Regions from separate parts of the Homo sapiens genome. Here regions 1, 2, 4, 5 and 6 are each linked to region 3. The links are contacts of gene promoters, found by promoter capture Hi-C in blood cells and fetal thymus (Javierre and others, 2016). All regions are on one chromosome and are shown on one strand. The core of a region is centred on a gene start or on the middle of the fragment in contact, and the rest is flanking DNA. Distances in the headings are between cores, read along the strand shown.

What was found. The method cuts DNA at HindIII sites, captures the fragments that hold promoters and counts their contacts. A CHiCAGO score of 5 or more calls a contact.
Region 1: a contact is called between a fragment that was not itself captured here and the fragment with the promoter of ENKUR in region 3, in 1 of 17 cell types (total B cells). The highest score is 5.2, in total B cells.
Region 2: a fragment that was not itself captured here is called in contact with the fragment with the promoter of ENKUR in region 3 in 1 of 17 cell types (total B cells); the score reaches 5.1 in total B cells.
Region 4: a contact is called between a fragment that was not itself captured here and the fragment with the promoter of ENKUR in region 3, in 1 of 17 cell types (monocytes). The highest score is 5.1, in monocytes.
Region 5: a contact is called between a fragment that was not itself captured here and the fragment with the promoter of ENKUR in region 3, in 1 of 17 cell types (total CD4 T cells). The highest score is 11.8, in total CD4 T cells.
Region 6: a fragment that was not itself captured here is called in contact with the fragment with the promoter of ENKUR in region 3 in 1 of 17 cell types (naive CD8 T cells); the score reaches 6.1 in naive CD8 T cells.

Annotation. Positions count from the first base shown.
Region 1 is chr10:16,820,069-16,822,768 of GRCh38, reverse strand. It overlaps LOC105376435 (a long non-coding RNA gene), which reads right to left. Exons shown (of 3, transcript XR_930708.3): 3 at 1,512-1,941. Among named protein-coding and RNA genes, the nearest start is that of RSU1, 4.0 kb to the right of the region's middle. The HindIII fragment of the contact is 1,317 bases long and covers 706-2,022 here.
Region 2 is chr10:17,230,559-17,233,258 of GRCh38, reverse strand. It overlaps VIM (vimentin), which reads right to left. Exons shown (of 10, transcript NM_003380.5): 3 at 2,549-2,609. Among named protein-coding and RNA genes, the nearest start is that of VIM-AS1, 1.9 kb to the right of the region's middle. The HindIII fragment of the contact is 987 bases long and covers 777-1,763 here.
Region 3 is chr10:25,014,902-25,017,601 of GRCh38, reverse strand. It overlaps ENKUR (enkurin, TRPC channel interacting protein), which reads left to right and starts at 1,444. Exons shown (of 6, transcript NM_145010.4): 1 at 1,444-1,742. The coding sequence starts at 1,666. It overlaps THNSL1 (threonine synthase like 1), which reads right to left and starts at 990. Exons shown (of 3, transcript NM_024838.5): 1 at 910-990. RefSeq lists enhancers at 269-348, 948-1,242, 553-1,315 and silencers at 599-678, 859-1,058, 1,389-1,438. The HindIII fragment of the contact is 2,880 bases long and covers 174-2,700 here.
Region 4 is chr10:18,645,663-18,648,362 of GRCh38, reverse strand. All of the region lies in intron 2 of NSUN6 (NOP2/Sun RNA methyltransferase 6), which reads left to right. Among named protein-coding and RNA genes, the nearest start is that of NSUN6, 4.6 kb to the left of the region's middle. The HindIII fragment of the contact is 1,063 bases long and covers 886-1,948 here.
Region 5 is chr10:18,665,875-18,668,574 of GRCh38, reverse strand. ARL5B (ARF like GTPase 5B) reads right to left here. Exons shown (of 6, transcript NM_178815.5): 2 at 1,940-2,000; 3 at 1-45. Among named protein-coding and RNA genes, the nearest start is that of ARL5B, 7.8 kb to the right of the region's middle. The HindIII fragment of the contact is 2,205 bases long and covers 275-2,479 here.
Region 6 is chr10:17,646,243-17,648,942 of GRCh38, reverse strand. All of the region lies in intron 1 of STAM (signal transducing adaptor molecule), which reads right to left. Among named protein-coding and RNA genes, the nearest start is that of STAM, 3.4 kb to the right of the region's middle. The HindIII fragment of the contact is 1,847 bases long and covers 475-2,321 here.

The sequences.
Region 1 (2,700 bases), core at 115-2,614, 8.2 Mb after region 3:
TTGAATTCCTCTCCTGAAAAAGCTTTTTCTTTCTCTGCCATATGGCCAGGCTGTAAATTTTCCAAATTTTTACACTCTGCTTTCCTTTTTAATATAAGTTCCAATTCGAAGTCATTTCTTTGCTCCCACATCTGAGCACATGCTATTAGAAGCAGCCAGCCCAAATCTTGAACACTTTGCTGCTTAGAAATTTTTTCCACCAGATACCCCAGGTTGCCACTCTTTAGTTCAAACTTCCACAGATCCCTAGGGCATGGACAGAATGCAGCCAAGTTCTTTGCTAAGGCATAATATGTGTCACCTTTGCTCCAGTTCCCACTAAGTTCCTCATTACCATCGAAGACCTTGGCAGCCTGGACTTCATTATCCATATCACTATCAGAATTTTAGTTGCAACTTTTAAACAGTCTCTAAGAAGTTCCAAATTTTCCCTCATCTTTATGTCTTCTGAGCCTTCCAAACTCTTCCAACCTCTACCCATTATCTTGTTCCAAAGTCAGTTCCACATTTTCAGGTATCTTTATAACAAAACCCCACTCCTGGTACCAATTTTCTGTAATAGATCATTCTTGCATTGCTATAAAGAAATACCCGAGACTGGGTAACTTATAAAGAAAAGAGGTTTAATCTGCTCACAGCTCTGCAGGCTTTATAGGAAACATGGTGCTGACATCTGCTTGGCTTCTGGGGCAGCCTCAGGAAGCTTATAATCATGGAGGAAGGCGAAGGGGAAACAGGCATGTCACACGGTGAAAGCAGGAGCAAGACAGCGAGAGTATGGGACAGGTGCCACACACTTTTAAGTGGCCAGCTCTCATGTGAACTCAGAGCAAGAGCTCACTTATCACCAAGGGTATGGCCCAAGCCATTCATGAGGGATCTACCCCCACGATCTAAACACCTCCCACCAGGCCGATCTCCAACACTGGCTTTTATAACTCAACATGAGATTTGAGCAGGGACAAATATCCAAACTCTATTATGTATTTACGCTCAGGAGTACAAAGTTTCCATAAGCACCACCATTGCCTATTCCTTAACACAATATGTTAAGTTATAAATAAACAATATGGTTTGCCACTTAACAAGAAGTAGAAAGTTCAGTAGCACATCCTTATCTCCAATGCTGCCAGACATGTAACTAAGTGAGGTAGTTATTAGCTTCCTTTTCATAAGAAAATTCAATGCTTTTATAAAGTTTTTCAGTGCCTCTAGAAAAGCGGAAGCCTTTACAAAGGAGATTTGCTTTATGTTAATTATGCAAAATCAAGGGTTATTAACAAAAGACCATGTGAATGAGAGAAGCTGAGGAATGTAACTTCATCTTACTCTAATACTCAAATGGCAGATAATTATTTCTGGACAGAGTATGGAGCCACAGAAATAAAATACTCTAACCTTGAAAATTCAGCTACTCAGGAGGCTGAGGCTGGACAATCACTTGAACCTAGGAGGCGGAGGTTTCAGTGAGCCAACATCGCGCCACTTCACTCCAGTGTGGGTTACAGAATGAGACTCCATCTCAAAAAAACAAACAACAACAACAACAATTCCTGCTCCCTTTTTGTATTATGGATAGACATATCAACTTTATGGGTGACAATTACATTGGAAAGGACAGTGAATGCGATAAGTAACACCATCAAATCCAAAAGGTCTTGATAAGCTACAACAATGGGCCAATTGTAACAGACGAAATGTGACAGATATAAGATCTTCCTCTTTTATCAAAAAATGAATTGCAAAAGTACAGAATACAGGGAAAGTTTAACAATAACATGAAATGACATAGTACTTTTCTGAAAGAAAGATTAACATGATGTCACTGTCAAAAAAATGATGCTTAGAGCATGGACTGCATCATTAGAGTAACGGTATCATTTCCACTCAGAAGGGCATGCTTTTCTAGGAGGCATATTGGAATATCTGGGAAGTGTGTACCTGAAATTGAGGAAAGCATAGTCAATATTATTATGTAATTTTAAAATTAAAAATACAGAAAAAAAGAGACAAAATGAAGCTTTACAAAATCTTCCAGGCTGGGCATCTAGGAAATAAGCAGTGATTTTTTAGTGGGTTAGGGATGGTCAGGCTTGGGAGCATGACATTTTCGTGTATAGCCAAGGGAAGTAGTTATTGAGTAATTCAGTTTTTGAGTAATTCAGCTGGAAGAAGGAGAAAAGAGTCAACTGTACTCTCATTCGTAAGACCCACCGTATATCCTCTGGTTCTGCTTTACATTTAATTCACTTGTTTCCAAATGTTTATTGAGCATCAGCTATGTGATACGTACTCAGCGCACTGAGGATAAAGCAGAGAACAAGACAGCCATACAAGACTATCAGCTGATGTCTCCCAGCTTCACAAAGCACACTTCCCAGCTCCATCTTGCTTGATTTCCTGAGCCAGTCCTGAGGCAAAAACCTTAATATTCTTATCTGGTGAAACATACATTGAGCCAACTTCCCAGATCTAGTGGCCAAGGGATAAGTTTCCTGATTCCAAATTGTGTCACCATGAAGTTTCACTGCTAGCAATCAGGACCCTGGACAGGCTAACCATCATCCTAGCAAATTAATCAAACCTGAGAAGGGGGTGTGGGAACCCTGATTTATAGCTGGTCAGTCAGAAGTGTAGGTGACAGTCAACCTAAAGTCTTGTGGAAATGAACCCTTAACTTGTGGGATTTGACTATAAGTT
Region 2 (2,700 bases), core at 21-2,520, 7.8 Mb after region 3:
TTACTTTTTAAGGCTGGTCATGGTGGCTTATGCCTGTAATCCCAGCACTTTGGGAGGCTGAGACGGGTGGATCACTTGAGGTCAGGAGTTCGAGACCAGCCTAGCCAACATGGCGAAACCCCGTCTCTACCAAAAATACAAAAATTAGCTGGGTGTGGTGGCACATGCCTGTAGTCCCAGCTACTTGGGAGGTTGAGGCAGGAGAATTTCTTCAACCCAGGAGGCAGAGGTTGCAGTGAGCCAACATAGTGCCACTGCACTCCAGCCTGGGCAACAGAGTGACACTCTGTCTCAAAAAATAAAGTAATTCATTTAATTTAATTACTTTTTAAATCTAGAAAATCTATGCCACAACATTTTTAAGATTTGTTTTGTAATTTCATGGAATAACATGATGATAGAGGTGGACAAATTTTCACAACTTCATGTACACTTGAGTACATGGAGAACAGAAACTTGTGCTTCAAGAGTTTTAGCTTTTCTTCTCCACTCAAATCTTTTGAAACTTATCCTTAGGCTCCAAAGCAAATATGTAGTCATCTGGCATCCATTGTACAAGGCTAGATTTATATTCAATAACCCAATTCAGGATATGCATGCCAAAGATTCAGTTCAGGAAAAAATGGAAAAGAAATGTAACTCTGAACTGTATTTGCTTGGCTTTCTCTGGTGGATTTTTCTTCTAAAACTCCTTTGACTCATCCTGTAAAGGCATGTCTTTTTCACTTGCCACTGTATCAGTTCAGTTAGCCTGTTTCAGAATGACTGGTCAAGCTTGCAAAGAATGAAACTACATAAAGGATTTTTGCTGATTCAGCCGTCCTTCTATATTTCCATTTAAAAAGCTCAGCATTCCAAATCAGAATATGTAATCTTGCAACTAAGATTTTATTTCCTCTCAAAAGGATGCGTGAGGATTGCTTATCTTGTCAGCAATTATATTTGGAGTTCATAGCCTTACGGTCTTAAACTGTTGAGACTTTTCTATCACCTTAGTGGAAAAATGAATGAAGAGTGGGTGACAAAAAGATCAGACTTGATGAAAACATTGATTTTTACTTGTTAAGCCCTGAAAAATACATAAAAGATATTTTACTAACCTCCAAAGAAAGATCAATGTGGTATTCTATCACATTGAAGAGAATGAGGAATTTTGCTTAATCTCGAAACAGAGGATCTTTTGTATTGATGTTGTTTTATGTTAACTCACTACACTGCAGAAAACATGACAGGTATGATAATCAAAAATGCTCAAGGACTAAAATGAACCACACACATTGCTGTGGTTAAATTAATTTGGTAAATGTATTTCAGTTTCAAAATGTTATACTACACTATTCATCTGAGAGTGCTTTGCAGTTAATCCCAGTAAATATTCCAGGGAATACAACTATAAACTATAATGGGGATCTTCTGGCTTTTGGATTCCAATTTTAAGTTAAAAATTCTGTAAGTCCATCTAATTTTGGTGAAAAAAAAAAAAAACACGCACAAAAACCCTTTAGTTAAAATTCAGTTTTTCAGCCTTGGGTTTATTACTGTTATTATTTTTTATGGCAAGAGTGCTAAAGAACACAAGAACCCAATCAAGAAAGGACTTTTAAAATGTGAGGTATGCTTGTAGCTTTAAAAACTTTTTACATTACCTACTTCTCAAGTCTGGGCCAGATATTAGATAACGGATGTTAGCAAATACTTGTGTCCAATTAGAACCGTGCTTACATCATTACATATTCAGTAAGAATGTAGCCTGTTGCAAAGCTTCCCTGGGAATACAAAGACTCCTATTATTTCTGTCCAGAGCCACCACATTTGCCAGAATGTCTGTATCTACATTCCATAGTGAAGCCCATAGAAACCATTAATACCCCTTAGCCAAGGGGACAGATGGCTCCTTTTCACCCTTATTAGATCACAAAATAGTTGTGCATAGTGATACTTCCATCGAACTTTAATGACACAATAGAATTTGCAAAGAAGAAAAGAAACTTGCTGGCTCCATTCCAGTTGGAAACTAAGTTTTCTTATCTTCCAACACGTTTTCCATTTTAAACTGCAGGGCATAATTGCGCTTTTTGTGGCCTTGTAAAAATTAAGCAACTTGACTTTGGCAAACCACAATCTAAAATTGTAACCGTTCGAAACCAGAAGGTCAATGTGTTGCAAAACTGTGCAACATTTGGGAAACAAAGTAAAAAGTTAAAAGATTTTTCTTTATGTCCCAAGGAACTGCTTAGAAATCATTCAAGGATCGCTTGAACCCGGGAGGCGGAGGATGCAGTGAGCCAAGATCTCGCCACTGCACTCCAGCCTGGGCGACAGAGTAAGACTCCGTCTCAAAAAAAAAAAAAAAATCGCTCAAGGGGTTTTATTAATATTTTTCTAATCATGAGAAGCTCCAACCTGTGGTCTTCCCGCCACTAGAGGGCTTTACGCGCAGCCCTGAAGTTTTGCACTTTTTAGACGTGAGTTAAGCAACTTTTAGAATTGCTCGTGGGTTGTGTTGGGTGGGGTCAGGCGGCTGCGAGTGGGAAGAGAGTCTACAAACCTGTCTGAAAGATTGCAGGGTGTTTTCGGCTTCCTCTCTCTGAAGCATCTCCTCCTGCAATCTGAAACAGTTGCGCATTAACCAAAGGGGAACGAGGAAACCGCCAGGGGCGGGGCGGCCACACCCAAACACCACGTATTCGCTCTGCGCCT
Region 3 (2,700 bases), core at 195-2,694:
ATGTAGTGAAATTCAGTAAGAGCCCAAAGTAAGGACCTACACATTCAGTAAAGCCTTTTTATACAGGAACTAAAAGGTTCACCAGGCCATTGTGTTGTTTTAATCACTCCGCCAGCCAACCAGGCAGTGAGAAACCCAGACTCAAGTGTGTTTTCTCTCCTCTCCGGGAAGCTTTATTTCCTTCGGGCAGAGTGGCCTCTGTACCGGTGGTTCAGAGGCATCCATCTTCCTCCCCAAATCCTATTACCAAAATGTCTTTTAAACACTCGGGTAAAAGCGTCTAAATGACTTTCCTACGGCAGGCCCATGTGCATAGATTTACGGGTGACCAGGTGGAACAAAAAGGAATAAAACCGCTTCTCAGAAGACAATTTTCCAACAAGGGACACCAAAAACTGGACAAAAACGTAAAGGCCCACTTAAAAGGCTTCTCCTCTTAGTTTAGGCTGCTCATTTACAAAGAGCAGGTCCACTGGTTCCTGGAGAACGACCTAGAGGAAGAGTCCCGACCCGGGGAAGAGCAGGCGCAGAGCCGACCCGGAGGACCGCCCAAGGGGCGGTCCCGGGAGCAGGGGCGGGAGGGCGAGCGCAGCAGGCGGAGGAGGCCGCGGGCCCCGTGCGCGCACTCACACACGTGGCGGGCAGGGCTGCGCGGCGTTCCGAGGAGCCTCGACCAGAAGCAGCAGGAAAAATGCGCGCAGAGTTGAGATGACCAGCGAGTAGCGGAAAGGGGAAGGGACGGTACGGGGAAAGGCATGCGATGGGAGCGGGCTGGCTTCTAGTTTTCCTTCCTTTCTCCTCCAATAACTCACCAAGGAAATCTCACTGAGAAGACGGGGGAAATGAAAGGAAATGGGGGAGCAGTGTCCACGAGCCGCTAAAGCCTCCACAGGAGACGGAGCACCGTACCTGCAGCTAGCTCCCCGGTCCCGCCCCCGCGCAGTGGACTCTGCGCCTGTGCCTGCGGCGGCCAGCGTGCCTCCGCTCCACGCCCTTCCCCGAGCGGCCTCGCGCAGGGCACGTGACTCTCCTTTCTCACTGTAGCCTATCCGAGCACTCCGATCTCCTCAGGCTCCTCCCCTCCCTCGTCTCCCTGGCGGCGCTGGCCTTGCGTCCTCGTGGTCTCAGCCGCTCGCTCCGCCCACACCGCGATTGGGGCCTGCTCACAAAAACCTTATTGGGTGACGCCTGCGCACCAGCTGCGCTTTGCCGTCTCTACTAGGATTTTTCTTTTTTCCCCAGATACACAGAAATAGAAAAGAGCACAGTTTTTAAGGGGACATCATTTTCACCCCGTTAACTTTCAAAGGCACGTAAAAACAGTGGCTTCCAAATGAGCTTCTCTAGCAGAAGGCGCTGCAGAAAGAGGGAAGAGGGGAGACCTAGTTTGCGGTGCTGCCTGCCACTTCCTCGTTGCCTAGTAACGGTTTCCACGGCAACCGCACAGTCAACGACGCTTAGCAATCCGGAGAGAAATAGGGTGTTTTCTTCCCGAGAGAGGACTGCTAAGAGGGGGTTAAAGGGGGACGATGTGAAGGAGAGAACCTGTGGTCCTTCAGAAGGCGAAGAAGAAAGAAAGGGGAAGCAGTGAAGAAAGGGACGGAGATACTGGGACAGGGAGAAAAAAGTTGTGGAGAGTAGCTTTTAAGGAGTCATTTGGTGGCCATGGATCCAACGTGCTCTTCTGAGTGCATTTATAACCTCATACCCAGTGACTTGAAGGAGCCTCCCCAGCCTCCTAGGTATGTGGATAAGCAAAGACTATCACTTGAAACAAGAATGGGGAATACTCAGTATTAATTAAGCATACATATACTGGAATTTTTAATAATAAATAAAATGTATTTTTGCCTCGATGAAGTAGCCTTGGAGGATAACTTGTTAGAGAAAAGGTCGAAATATCTAGGTATTCAGCATCTCACAGTTTTACAGAGAGGGCAGTCTGGCGCTGTGAGATGACCATTTTATTATATTACACTTAACCTCTTATTAATACGGTATGTGATTATTGTGTAATTTAATTATATGTGATATACAGCATAGTATGAAGTTTCATGTTGAAAAGAAAAAAATCACAATTCTATTATCTTGTTTAAGGATACTTGATGTTTGGTTTCAGGAGTTCGGTGTTGTATTTCTAACTGCACTACTCCCTCTCTAATGGGATAGGATAGGACTTTTCCCCCAAGATTTTTATGAAATATAAATTTACATTTGCTTTTGAGCCTCAGGTTTTTGATCAGTGAAACGAAATATCTACCACTATTAGGCAGTTTCTAAGGACTTTTTCAGATCTAATGGTTTAAATGGAAGGAAGAATTGGTGGATAGATAATGAACCAAAAAATATGTAATTGAGTTGAAATTTTACATAGGTCTTAGAACCTCTTAAATTCTCCAAATCTCAAAAACGTGCAAAGGAAGCACTTCAGTTACTCCCATCTGTAGGGACTTCTTAGAACTTACTTAAATCTGTGGGGAGCAAAGAAAGTAGTGGAGAAAATCTCATTTCTCCTAGGACTTGAAATGTTTCCTGTCTTTTACCATCATCCTTGTCCGTATGCAAGTCAAAACCACATTTGAAAAGGACTGGACTAAAAATCGGGCCTAGCAATTAATTGTCTTTGTGAACTTTAGAATAAAGTTTCATTTGTTTACTGATCTGTGAGATAAATGTACCAGATAATATCCAAGGCCCCTT
Region 4 (2,700 bases), core at 168-2,667, 6.4 Mb after region 3:
TGGTAAATTCTTCAAAGTTATCCTAGGTGGTAATGCTAGAACTTGAACCTAGTACTTCTGATTCTAAATTTATTCATTTTTGGTGACTAAAATAGCTCATTAAACCCCTCTGGGCCGCATTAAACTGGGCCTTAGTAGCTTCATCATTAAAATACATGTGAAGAAGTCCAGTCTAACCTTAAAAACCTGTGGCTTTGTGATAAGTAGCATATAATGACCAGGAGGACAGATGGTATAGCTGAGATAATAAGCCCAGGGGTAAGGAGGTACATACTAAGTACCTGTGAGATTATATTGTTAATTGACATAAAAAAATAGATGTTGGGCCAGGCGTGGTGGCTCATGCCTGTAATCGCAGCATTTTGGGAGGCTGAAGCAGGTGGATCACATGAGGCCAGGACTTTGGGACCAGCCTGGCCAGTATGGCGAAACCCTGTCTCTACTAAAACATATAAAAAAATTATTCGGGCATGATGGCACATGCCTGTGATCTCAGCTACTTGGGAGGCTGAGGCACGAGTAATCCCTTGAACCCGGGAGGTGGAGGTTGCAGTGAGCCGAAATTGCATGACTGCACTCCAGCCTGGGCGATGGAATGAGACTCTGTCTCAAAAAAAAAAAAAAAAAAAAAAAAAAACAAGGTGTTGAGCGCCTTATGTTTTATAAAACCAGGAAATTAAGATGATGAATCTGAATCTATTTTCAATGTAAAACAGCATGAGACTTTTTTTACCCAACCAATAAAATAGTTTTGGCAAAATATTCCTCTTACAGATGAAAACAATATTATAAAATGGCATTTATGACTTCTAAGCAGAAAGTATGAGTTATCTTGTTTATATTTTTTTGAGTTATCTTGTATATACTCTTTTGCTTTTGAAAGCTTTGCCTTAGGTGTTTCATACACTGTACACTGAAATTTACCTCAAAAGCAATGTAGGATGTAGAAGAATAGATGCTGAGAGGTACCACATAAATTGTATACTGTAGTTATTCACTGACTGGTAACATGTAACGTGGGTGTCAGCAGACTCATTTCTGCCTTATTTGTGTCTGAGTTAAAAGCGAGAGGCAACCATGATTAAAGGGTTTCCATTTGTCAATCACAAGCTGTATTTAGTTATTTAGAAAATTTCAGAAAATTATCACTGAGTCACTTATCCCCTTTTAAAAAATCTCTCTATTACATTTATGGACTCTTTGTCATACTCTATTTAAGAACAACTATAAGTACCAAGTTGTGAATAGACAACCATGTTATTAGAAGAACCAGCTATGGCATCTCAGTGTATGAGACCAAACCTTAGTATAATAATTAAATAAGATTTTTTAAAAATTAATCTGATTTTTATTGATAGTGATAATCTTATTGAGAGTAATGACAGGTATAAAACATAAGTAGTTGCCCTAAGCAACTAAAATCATTACTTTTCCATAACCATGTGTATGTTTTCAGCTAATAAAAAGGAAACTGTTCTGAGGCCCACTGGAAGTATCCATAACTCAGATCCAGATTTTTTTTGTTTTGTTTTGAGAGGGAGTCTCACTCTGTCGCCCAGGCTGCAGTGCGGTGGCACGATCTTGGCTCACTGCAACCTCTGCTTCCTGTGTTCAAGCGATTCTCCTGCCTCAACCTCCCAAGTAGCTGGGACTACAGACGCCTGCTACATTTTTGTATTTTTAGTAGAGATGGGGTTTCACCATATTGGCTAGGCTGGTCTCGAACTCCTGACCCTGTGATCTGCCCACCTTGGCCTCCCAAACTGCTGGGATTACAGGCGTGAGGCCTTGTGCCTGGCTTTATTATTTTTTTTTTCCACAACAAATGATTTCCAGAACCTGGATATTTTAGCATCCTAGTCTGGATATACAAGATCCCATGGGCTAGGATCAGTCACTCTGGACTTTGGGTCCCTTTCTTTGAAGGTTAACGTTGGACAGGGAAGCTTCGGTCAGAGTCACTAGATAGGAAACCAATGGTAAAGCAGTACCCGATTCTAGTAAGAAAGTGTACTTGGAGGAGGTTTTAGGCTGTGGATTTCTTTTTCCTTTCACGTTGAAAAGTTCACGTGTCCTAAAGAGATGTCCTGAATAGGATGATATAAAAGTAAGTGTTTTCTCCCCAATATCTGTGCACCACATATTGAATTATTATTATCATTATTTTTTAGATGGAGTCTCGCTCTGTTGCTCAGGCTGGAGTGCAGTGGTGCGATCTTGGCTCACTGCAACCTCTGCCTCCCAGGTTCAAGCGATTCTCCTGGCTTAGCCTCCCGAGTAGCTGGGATTATATGCACTCGCCACAATGCTCGGCTAATTTTGATATTCTTAGCACAGATGGGATTTCACCATGTTGGCCAGGCTGGTCTCGAACTCCTAACTTCAAGTGATCTGCGTGCCTTGGCTTCCCAAAATGTTGGGATTACACGCGTGAATCCCATATATCTCCGTGCCTGGCCTGAAATTTAATAATATAAAATTTAATTAGGCTGGTGACAATATGGAGAAGCTGGAATCTTCAAACATTGTAGGTTGAAATGTAAATAATATGATCTCTTTGGAACATTGGTGGTATCTTAAAAAGTTAATCATACTCTAAAACCCAGCAATTCCACTCCTAGGTATATACTCCAAATAAATGAAAACATATGTTCATATAAATTCTCCAGCATGAATGTTCATAGCAGCACTACTCATAAT
Region 5 (2,700 bases), core at 128-2,627, 6.3 Mb after region 3:
TTGCTTCCTATGGTTGGAGAAGTATGAACCACTTCATTCATTAAGCTGTTGAAAAACAGACACCGTAAAAGCTCTTGTAAATCTTGAGAATCTGAAGCAACTTTTATCTCTGTATTTTTAAGATCAATCAACCTTCTGCACCAATGATGGTGATCATTAGCATGAAAATTATAAACCTGGAGAACACTTGCGCAAATCAATATCTAGATAACAACTCCAGAAGAAAGACTTGTTTCTTGTTTGTTTTTTTTTTTAACGGAAGGAATTGCAAGCTTGATGGAAAAGAAAGGAAACAGTGTGGTGTGAATTTGCATTTCTGTGGCCAAAAATTCCAATACCACCATGCCCTGTTATCAGTTAGATAAGACCCAATGTCCCATGCCATCCTGAAAAGCAAGTTTCTAGGTGATTGCAAAATAGCAAATATTGGATAGCAGGCTATCTATAATTTTGAAGACTGTCTAAATTGAGACTTAGTCACAAAAATTAATTCAGGCATATTAATCTAAAGTAGTCCTAAAAAGATGACCATGGGCAAGTAAAAATTTAAATTAACTATAGATATATTTAGAAGGCCAGGTGTGGTGGCTCACACCTATAATTCTAGCACTTTGGGTGGATCACCTGAGGTCAAGAACTTGAGACCATCCTGACCAACATGGTGAAGCCTCGTCTCTACTAAAAATACAAAAATTTGCAGGGCGTGGTGGTGGGCGCTTGTAATCCCAGCTACTCTGGAAGCTGAGGCAGGAGAACCGCCTGAACCTGGGAGGTGGAGATCACGCCATTGCACTCCACCCTTAGAAACAGAGCAAAACTCTGTCTCAAATATGTGTGTGTGTGTGTTTGTGTGTGTGTGTATATATATATATATATATTTAGAATACTGATGCTCATACCCCTCGTATTATCATAATCATTGGTAAAGCTACATTAATCAATTAATTCAACAAATATGCCCTTGCCAGTAACATGTCACTACTGTGTTGGAGGAGGCTTGCAATTCTCTTGGGTTTTATGTATATTTTTGAAGCCATGTGTAAAATTATTTCAACAAAGATGACAGGTTTCTGAAATGTTTATATGTGATGTTTAAAAGCTAATTCATATTTAAACACATAATCACCAATGAATGAAAATGTTTTCAAGAGAAACAAGTAGTTGTTCAACTCTGAAACAACAAACTTTAAGTCAGTAGCTTTTTAGCAAAGTAGCTGAAAAATGCGTTAATCACTGGCTAATGAAGTACTTCTGGTGAGCTGATGGCTGTCTTCTAATGCAACATGAGTGGGAAGAGGTAAGAGCCACACAATGGGGCAAAGAACTGTAGAACTATTTTGTTAAAGTGCCTGGTAGATCCACTTCTACTGCTTAATACTATCATTTCATTGGCATTGAAAGGATAATGGAAGGTACTCTGACAAGTGGAATGATGAGCTGTGAAAATTTCCTAAGGTATTAACAGATTTCTCTGAAAGTCTCAAGACTCTCCCTCTTGCAAGCTACTACAGCAATATTTTCAGGAGTGATCACATTTCTTTTGACAAGTCTGGCTATGTTAAAAAATTCCAAAGCTATTAGTCAGGAGGGTAGCAATGGCTTCCTAGAGCTATCAATTTATTTACATAAACCCAAGTGGGGTAAGAACTAAGTGAAATCCACTTTATCACCTCACCCCAGCACTTCTAATATGCGCTTTATTTATTTAATATTAATTTCTTTCTTTCGAGGGCAGAAAACAATAAGTGTTTGTGAAGGGTTTAGCAAATGTTTATTTCACTCACTTTTCTATAGATTGTGTTCGGTAAAATTAAAAAAACAAAAAACAAAAAACATATATTTAAGTTTTTCCGTCATTATTATAATGCATCTCTTATTAATTGTAAACACATTAGTTTCAATAACTAGTGAAAACTGTTTAATAAACACCCATACTTACAATTGGTAAAGAATGGTGGTTTTCCCTGCATTATCCAGTCCCACTATAATTACTTTGTGTTCTACAAAAAGAAAGCAAATCATAAACATTTAACACTACTGCATTACTGCAATTACATGCTTTCAACAATGATTATTAGTTAGCTCATTAATGAGAATCATTCACTGAATATCTATCACTAGACTTAAAATGCAGAAAGAAATGTTATGATGTTAAGGCTACCTAGGTTAAGTAACAAAATCAATTATCATTGATTCTCTGTCTAGTTCTCATGTAAAAGAATGTGGGAGATGGGTAGGCAGGAAACACCAGCAAAGTTGGTCACTTATATTGCATCTAGGGGAGAGGAGACCCAAATATTAATCTAGGCAAAAATTATAACCTAAATGTAAGTTTTTTAAAAAGCCTGTTTTACACACCTTTTTAGCTCTGTACCAATCAAGTTAGCTTTTTATCAAAATGTTTTCATATCTGTAAGTTTCCCCACCTATGTATACCAGGATCTGTTTCTTCCTCTCACTTAAAAATCCCATGTAAGCTTAAAATTGAAACGTTTCATGTGTCACAAAGACAAACATATACTCTCAAGTTTTTACACAATTACTCATTGTTTAACATTTTTTCAACCGGCTTCTACAGTTCTTTTGAGCAGATTCTGTTTCTGCTCTTTGTACAATGAAAATCTCTTCAGTTCTTTCCTCCTTTGGGTGCCATGCACTAAATATTCACCTCTTTTAATAAGTAGTTGCTAAAGCTCATCT
Region 6 (2,700 bases), core at 149-2,648, 7.4 Mb after region 3:
TAAGAAGCCTGGAATTCAAGAGAGTGAGTCTGGAGATCATAATCATATCAGACACACAGGAAGAAGCCATATTGTGAGCCACAATAAAAAAACTTGCATTTCCCTTTAAGTAGGATAGGAAGCTACCAGAGAACTCTGAGCAGGTAACTGACATTATCTAACATTTTTAAAAGATCACTGACCTTTGTAAATGAGAACTGATTGTAGAGGCAAGAGTGGTAACAAAGAAACCTACCAGAAGGCTCTTGCCACTGACTATAAGAGATAACAATGACTGAAGTAAGGTAAGAATGGTGAGACAGAAAAAGGTGATGATGTGTCCGGAGTTTGTTCCCTCTGGTGGGTTTGTGGTCTCGCTGACGTCAAGAATGAAGCCACGGACCTTTGTGGTGAGTGTTACAGCTCTTAAAGGTAGCACGGACCCAAAGAGTGAGCAGCACCAAGATTTATTGTGCAGAGTGAAAGAACAAAGCTTCCACAGCATGGAAGGGGACCCGAGCCGGTTGCTGCTGCTGGCTAGGGTGCCCAGCTTTTATTCTCTTATTTGTCCCCGCCCATGTCCTGCTGATTGGTTCATTTTACAGAGTGCTAATTGGTCCATTTTACAAACCTCTAGCTAGCTACAGAGCACTGATTGGTGCATTTTACAAACCTCCAGCTAGCTACAGAGCACTGATTGGTGCGTTTTTACAGAGCACTGATCGGTGCATTTTACAATCCCCTTGTAAGACCGAAAAGTTCTCCAAGTCCCCACTTGACCCAGGAAGTCCAGCTAGTTTCACCTGTCAATGAAATTCTGGATATATTTTTAAAGTACAGCCAAAATATCTTGCTGATAGGATGAATGTGAAGTGTGAAGAAATAAGAAGAATCAGTGATACTCCTAGACATTGGAGCTCAGTGACAGGAAACAGTAATCATGTTGTCGTCTACTGAGAAGGGCAAGGATGAAGGAATGAGCAGGTTTGGGCAAAGAACTAAGAATTGAGTTTTTGAATGTTTGTTTTTAGACTCTAAGCAGAATCCAAATGGAGATGCTCAGTAAGGAGATGGATATCTAGGTCGAGAGCTCAGGCAAGAGGCTGAGAGTAAGAACATAAATCCAGGAGTCACCAGAATACGCTAGGTATTTAAAGCTAAGAAATTAGATGAGGTTCTTTTTAAAATCTTACTTAATAAAAAGTACAGAAATTTTTCTAAGTGCTTTACAAATATTAACTCAACCCTCTTAACAACTCTCTGAGGTAAGAACTATTATTACTCTTATATTCCATATTAAAGATAAGGAAACTGAGACACAGATTATCTAAGCAACTAGGCCAAAAATCACACTACCGGTAAGCAGCAAACCTGGGACTGAATCCAAGCAGTGTGGCCCCAGTCTGAATTCTTAACACTAAGCTAAATTGCTTCCTAATACTCTAAGGGAAAAAAAAAAGTGGAAGGAGAGAAGAGGCTCCGGAACTGAGCCGCAGGGCACTCAACTTTTAGAAGTTGCAAAAAGGGGAAGCAAAAAAATTTAAAAGGAGCTAAGTAGAAAATGAGAAAAAGTTTGGTGTCCTGAAATCCCATGAATAAAATACTGTATATCAAAGAGGAATGCTTAAGAGATCAAAAAAGAAATGGACTAGAAAGTGACCATTGGATTTGGCAAGGTGGAAGTCACTAGAGACTTTGAAATACAAACTTGATGAAATAAGTTATCTTTACGTTTCTTCTAAATTCAGCTCTTGAATTATAATGTCCAAAATGAGATTCATTTATTCCATAAATGTTTACTGAAAGTTCTTCAGCATGCCAAAAACTGGTCTACAGCTAGGGATACGGCAGTGAAAAAATCAAACAAAAATCCCTGTCCTCACAGAGCTCACATTCTAGTAACATCTTTCGGTGTTTCTTCCAAGGGAAAAGCTATCACCAGCATTGTGTCTCTTTATAAAAAATGTTATATTATATAAATCAGTCAGTGAATTTCTGATTCAGCCTCAGATTAAGACTGAAGACAATTAATTTTGAAGATGTGCAAATGTATACGAGTGTTAAGTGATAAATAACTGTATCAAATGAGTTACTTTAATGTTATGACATATTCATTGGTAGATATGGTGAAAGAAAAAATTGTTAAGTGTATTCTATACACTGTATTCTATATGTTATACTATTAAAAAATAATATGAGTCTACTGGACTCTGTGCAAGGCTTATGTACTGGGAATCTCTGAGGGGTCTTCTTAGATAAACCTTTTGTAATATTTCAATACAAGGATTGTGAGAAGAGAATTGGTCCAATACCAAAACCTGAGCAACTTTAAAAAGTAAGCTTTTCTGGAGCAAAACAATGTTGCTACACTGAAGAAGTATAATGTCTGGCAGGCTCAACTGACACATTCTCAACTCAACAAACATTATTAAACACCTCCTATGTAGCAACCTCTCATTAAGGAGTATAAAACTATCTTGAATGCTAAATAATTCGGTAAAGGCAAAAATGCTAAAATAAGTTAGAGGATTTTGTAAGAAGGTGGAAATTAGAGTGGACTAGTGCAGCGGTTCTCAACTGGGAGGTATTTTGTCCTTCCAGGGGGCATTTAGCAATGTCCTGAGACTTCTAAAATCATGAGTGGGGGCTGGGTGTCACCGGCATCTAGTGGATAAAGGCCAGGGATAAGGCTGAACACCCTACATTGCACAGGACAAACTC